Regions from separate parts of the Homo sapiens genome. Here region 1 is linked to region 2. Evidence: promoter capture Hi-C in 16 types of primary human blood cells and fetal thymus (Javierre and others, 2016). All regions are on one chromosome and are shown on one strand. Each heading gives the region's core, a stretch centred on a gene start or on the middle of the fragment in contact. The rest is flanking DNA. Distances are from core to core; before and after follow the strand shown.

Region 1 (3,221 bases), core at 662-3,161, 3.7 Mb after region 2:
GTGGTAATAGATTATCGCTGATTCATTTGCCAGATTTTTTTACTATTGTCCTTGTGATCTATGGCATCAGATACAGTATTGTGGATTGCCTTTAAGGTGTGTTATTTGGCCATGGAATATAGAGAACTTAAGCACCTTCTGGGACTTACACAGGCTCTGACCAGCTTGGCATATAACCATCATATAATTACAAATAGGTACTAGAATCGTTTTAAATAATGCTACAACACTAATCTCAGTCCGCTCTTTTTTTGCAGGTTGACCCACATCCTAGCGACGTAGAAGAGAGCCAGCCTGTTTCCTTCATTCTCTGAACGTATTTCAGAAATCACTGTGTTCATCATCAAATTAGAATGTTGGTTCTTTTCCTTCTGCCTTTTTGGGAAAGAGACAGGAAAGATTCACTTGAAAACATAAATGAACGTCAAGACTGAAGGCAATAGAAATTAAAGAATGTGAGAAAGTTCTGGTGGGCCGGCAGGATTGCCGCACAAGTTTATATGATGGTCGTATATATATCCCTGTTAAAAACTGGGATGAAGATGTGCAAAGTCACAGAATGTAATGGAAGTCCTGATGGTTACAGAGTAAGTGAAAGGGTGCCTGCGCTGACGTGAGAGAAAGGAATCTGTAAACAGTGGAAACACTGTGGGAGTTTCCCATGGTGAAGAGTGGAACGAAGGCGATATGAACTGAAGGGGTGAAGACTTGATTTTGGAGAGGGCAACAAAACAAGGGTGTGTGTGCATAGGAGAATGGCCCACTCCAAATACGAAGTGAGATCCTGAGTCTTTGGGTGCTTCATGATTTCCTACCATATTCAGGCCTAAAGACATTGAAAAAGCATCTTTTCTTGAGATCATGGTCATATGAGGTCCTAATGAAGTACTACAGTTTTCATTCTTTCAAGGGTAGACTAAAATATAGTTTATAAATCGGCAGTACGGTATTATGAAACCAAGAAAGGGTTTCTTGAAAAGCTTGTCGGTTCAAAGAGGAAAGATGAATTTCAATGTGAAAACACGTTTTGTTGAGGGCTGTACTTTTTACCCCCTTTAAGTGCTTTAACAGGATATACGTTTGATTTTCCTCATATCTTATTTACCTAGGAGCATGTAAGAGAAAGAAGGGAGAGAAAAGGTTGCATCTGCAGGATGCCTTGATAACTACACAGTCCCAAATAAAAGGCCTTTTTCTAACCTACCTCTAATGGGGTTATCAGATATGTTTTTAAATCTCTCGCCCTGAGTACTCTTCTTGGGAGTTGCTGCTGTTTACAGCCACAGTCTCATCTATCACTAAATATGAAACTGGGCCAAGGGGAAAATTCAGTAAGTTAGCGTTAAATGGAAGTAAATATATGTATACCTAAGAGAATGTCAAAATAAACACCAAACCAAAAGAAGGTAGGAGTGCCATTTTTAGAAAAGACACAACTTTAATTCCTGTCAAGAGACCTAGGTCTACTGATGGCAGTCACTGCATTGTACATTATTCCAGTTCTTCAGTAATTCTGTTTAAACTGTGATTTTCTTTATTGTGTTGGTGCAATATTTTATTATCATTTAACCTCAGGATATTCAGACCAACAGGATTGTGTTGCTGCTGAAAGTCTGAGCAGTGTTTTACCGTCCCCAGCCCCCCTCCCACATGGTCACATGTTCACTTGCTTTTCCTTCCATCTGTTGGTTTTGTGAGCTGAGAGCATCTCTGGACACATGGAAGGGAGCCAGGGATTCCTGTGATACAGATTTTGAACCAGCAGAGTACTTTGGTTTTCTTCATGTCCTAAGGGTTTGATCCAGAAACCCTGGTGCTTCCCCTGCAGAATACTGTACTTCATTTAACAGAATGATTGATTTTTCTTTCAATCAGCATGTTCACCAAAAATAGAAAAGTTCTTCTAAGGTTAAATTTTGTATTTAAAAGTTAGTTGGCCATTTGATCAGGGAATTTTCTACACACATTAGGCAAATGTATGCTTTTCATCCTCTGGGCTTACCTCTCTCCTCTGCAATCCTGGAAGCATCGTGCATAGTTCTTTCATTGTAAGCCGCTATTTAAATTCCCACAATGCAAAACTGTTAGACCAGTAATTGTGCTACTGAAATTGTCACAAAACGTTATTCCTTGATTTGGTTTTTAAATTTTGCTTTCGTGTGTGTGTCTTTAAACAGGTAATGTGTATTTAAGTGTTGTCTAAACAGTTGATTTTTACTTTAGAAAAGATCATCTTCAACTGTTTATTGACTTCTGAGTTATATAGTTCATGCCCTGCCAAGGCATTGTTCGACTCCATGATACTAAAACATAATGAAAGAAACAAACTCCAGTATGGAGAAGAGAAAGTTTAATTATTTGGTTCCATCTAGAAAAGCAACAACTTAAAGGAATCCTTCACTAGGATTGTCTTATCACCTTTATTAGATAAATCATGAAGTGTCCCTGTGAAATTGAAGTGAAACTATCTCTGTAGGACTTAAGAGAATAGCTAAAAGGTGTGACTTGCCTTATTGAAATGATACTGGCATATCTGACTGTAAGCAGTAGGTTGAAGATATCATTTTATGAATGTGGAGAATTCTACATTGAAACAGAAAATACCTGGGAATGAAGATTAAAAATGTAGCTGCTGTTATTTGCTTGGTTATTCCCCTCTTGCTCTTCTTTAGTTTGAAAAAACAAAAACGTGGCCTTGGAATTTTCATTTTGATGCAGAAATTTTGAAATTGAAAATGTGCATGTTTTGGTGCACAAAATCCTTCTGTGGGCAAAACTTTGTTTTTGTTTTGCACAGTAAGAAACAATAGGCAAGCGTTATGTTTTTGGTAAGTTAACTATGAAAGCTTTCTTATTTTTATTATTAAAAATGTAACAATTTAACCCACAGGAAAAAAAATTACTTTGTATGCTTGTTTGAACCCTATGGGTTCGTTTTATTAATAAAATTATTACACTAATGCTATGAGGTGCTAGTTTTTTTTTTCAAATATAAATTATTATAGACTTAAGGGAACTCAATGCCAAAAAAACAAATGTTGCTGCAGTTGAAATCCTTTTCTCTAGGTGTGTTATCATGAGGGAGGAACAGCCCTAGAACCTGACTTTGTTTTTACAGTGGGCTCCGGTTCCCAAGGTAGTCCAGTGTTAGCATTCCATGAAGAAAAGTAGCTGAGACAAGTGAGGAAACTAAAGCTATATTGGTTAAAAAAGCATATCAT
Region 2 (3,217 bases), core at 161-2,660:
ATGATCACGTGTTACATGCCAATCACAGAAACTGGTGCGAAGTTGTGTTCCTCAGTGGTAGCTATTGTTGTAAGTCGGAATTGCATGACAGTGGCAGCTGTTTTCTATCACGTCCTCATGTTTTCTAAATTTTTATGCCCCTTCCTCCCATTTCCTACCTTAGTATTGTTAATAGCTAACTTTTATTAAGTGGTTACCATGGCCCAGGACACTGTAATGAGGATTTTATGTGAATTACCTAATTAATTTCTCAGAAAGTATGAGATAGCTATTATTTTAAGCTATTTAAGCTATTTTAAGCTATTTAAACAACCAGTTTGTTGAAGTTAAAATTTAGAGAGGTTAAGTGAACTCGTCCATTTACACAATTAGTTGCCCAGGCAGAATTTGATTTGAGGTCTGACTCCAAAGCCGGAGCTCTTAATCACCAGTGACACCAACTAAACGCTTCATTTCAGAGCTCGCCTATTCCCAGAGGTCCCATTCCCGTTTTAAGGTTATTTTCTGTAACTCTCTTGTATCTAATTTAAAAATGCTATTTCCCAGAGATGAGTCCCTGATCTCCCAGAAGGCATGGATCATACATTTCTTTTCCTAATCCACCCAAATTCCTAGAGCGCACAGACTTAGGCTCGTTCATAGACGGGAAAAGAAACTGACCAGGCAGTGAAACCGAGCAAACAAAGTGCAATAAGACAATTACAGCAGGAAAGCGGCGTAAAAAAAAGTAGAAAAAGAAAGTAAGGGAAAGGGGAAATAAATAGCAAATATTCGCTGAGTGCCAACAATCGCACGGGAGGGTCTTTAGGGTTCTCTGCCGAGTACTCGGGACGGCTTGCTGAGCAGTACGCCGGCCTTATCTCATAGATGAGGCACCAAGGCTCAGGAAACAGTTCTGTGGATCTGGGCGGGCATCTTCCACCCACAGTCGCGCACACGTGGCATAGGTTAATAGGCTGTCTGGCTCGGGTACCTCTTCCCAGGGTCAGGGCGTTACAAAGGGAGGCTGCTGTCTTCCCATGAATCTATTAGGGACCTACAGGAGCGAAGAGAACCCTTCTGAGTATCAGCGAAGACAGCTTATTAAGACTTTACGAGTTTGCAAGCCATCCTCGTCCTATTTCCTCACTTCGGACTTTTTGGACACACCTTCCTTTTCCTGTGAGCCAACCCAAACGAATGAGTTACAAGTAATCGCCTTCTCTACGCCCAGCCAGTGCCCAGCACCAAGCATAGCGCCTCCTTGCAACACCCGGCCGAGCTCCCGGCGGCAGCGCGGGCGCTTGGGTCGGAGGCTGCTCAAAGGTGACGCGCGGCCGCCTCCTCCCCTTTAGGCGGGGCTCGCAAGGGCGGTGGGGGGGCCCGAGGAAGTCCGGGGGCCCTCGGTGATGCCCCCGCCCCCGCCGCGTCAGGGTTGCTCCCTGCGCTTCCGAGTGGCGACTGCAGCGGGTCCGGTGCAGGTGAGGGGCGCGCGCCTGCCCAGCTTTGCAGCCCCCGAACGCGGCCTCGCACAGGTGAGGGCGGTGCCGGGTTCACCTGGCAGCGCGCGTGGGCCGGGCAGCACGGTCGCCGCCTGGGGGTGGGCGTCTTCTCTCAACCGAAGCTGGGAGTTGGGGAGCTGGAGGGTCCAGGATGAGAATTCAGTGGCGCTACTACCCCGGAGCTGCTTGTGGTTCAGAGATCAGAAAGGTGTCCTGAGGACTGGAGGCAGAAATCCAGGCGTGGCGTACTGGAAGGCGCACTAGGGGAGGGCAGCCTGGCCCAGAATTTCTTTGCATTTTAAAGGCCACACATTCAGTCTCCCCGGGGCGCTACGGAGGTAGTCACCGCCACATCCAGGACTCCTTCCACAGAGGTCAGTTCCTCAGCTGGGTGGGCTTTAATACGCTCTCTTCGTAGAGACCCGGAGGTTCAACTTTAATTCTTTGCGCTGACATTTGCTCAACGACACCGGAGCAGAAATCCTTGGGATAATTGCGTAGGTAACAAACAGTGTCTCAATCCCACTGAAGATAAGTAAGTTAAAAATAAAGACAGTGATGTTGGTGGTGAACTTGAGTGGCGATTAGTTTCCGCAATTAGTTCCCTCCTGCACTGTCCATTTGTTAAGCAAATGTGCTGACGGCTTTTTTTAAATGATTGGGTTGCCATAAAAGAGGTTTTCTCTAGTCTGAATGAACTTCTGTGCGATGCTGACTGAGGGTTTCAGCCTCCTCTAGATGCTTACAAGAGCTTGGTCTGGAAGGTACAAGGGTGCGAACCCTTAAGGTACCAAGCAGCTTCTCAGTGAACCGTGAGACGTTAGAACACTTGCTTCAGGACGCACAGAATTCAGACACCACTTATTGAAGGATTTGTATGGATTATAATTTACATTAGCATTCATTTTTTGCTTGAGTCAGTAGCATTTCAATTCAACAAATATTTATTGTACACCTGTTAACGGGCAGACCTCTGAGAGCCGGGCTGGTGTGCTGTTGGGTAGCACAGGTGTTGATATTAATACAAAGGGGAATCTTAAGGCACTTATTCCTCACAGGTGGGTGTTTAGAACGAGACCAATGGTGCTGCGCTTTGCCTCAGCAGCACCTGTGTAATCGCTGGTTATAAGTATTTAAATGCAGGGAGAATGTAAATCTTTGAAGAGTCTCTGTCATTAGCCTGATCAGTCATTCCAAAGCAATAAAAATTGTCAAAACCATGCTTAAAATAAGATTATTAAGAATTAGCTCTGTGCCAAGCACCATGCTAGGCACTTTGTCTTGTCTATGAAATCTACAAAGTAGATACTATTCCCCTGTGCAGATAAGGAACTGAGGCAGAGAGGAGTCCAGTAATTTGTACAAGGTCAGTGGTGAATTTAGAAATTGCATGTGGCTATTTCTGAGTGCAGAACTCGTACTTTTTCACTATTCCATGCTGTCTCTAAGATGGAGAGTGTAAATCCGGCAGATTTAATATAAGAATTCAAATTTATATTCATAGATCCTATCTCCTGGGGATTAATGGAGTTAAAGTAGTCCTCAGGAATGAAGTGAGCACTGTTTTCATTGCACTTGTGTGGTCAAGCTGTGACCTATCTGTGACTAGTAGATGTAGCTTTAAAAGATAAAATTTATTATGTGTCTTAACATATTTTGAAAGGCCTTTCAAAATATGTTAAAAGATAAAATTTATTATGTCTCTTAACATATTTTGAAAGGCCTGATATATCCAA

The links. Contacts are between HindIII fragments. The CHiCAGO score rates a contact against its expected background, and 5 or more counts as called.
Region 1: a contact is called between a fragment that was not itself captured here and the fragment with the promoter of MCTP2 in region 2, in 1 of 17 cell types (M2 macrophages). The highest score is 5.4, in M2 macrophages.

The regions. Positions count from the first base shown.
Region 1 is chr15:97,970,874-97,974,094 of GRCh38, forward strand. ARRDC4 (arrestin domain containing 4) reads left to right here. Exons shown (of 8, transcript NM_183376.3): 8 at 258-2,960. The coding sequence ends at 314. Among named protein-coding and RNA genes, the nearest start is that of ARRDC4, 12 kb to the left of the region's middle. RefSeq lists an enhancer at 1-738. The HindIII fragment of the contact is 1,866 bases long and covers 979-2,844 here.
Region 2 is chr15:94,230,151-94,233,367 of GRCh38, forward strand. MCTP2 (multiple C2 and transmembrane domain containing 2) reads left to right here and starts at 1,411. Exons shown (of 23, transcript NM_001385001.1): 1 at 1,411-1,514. RefSeq lists a silencer at 1,341-1,470. The HindIII fragment of the contact is 9,020 bases long and covers 1-3,217 here.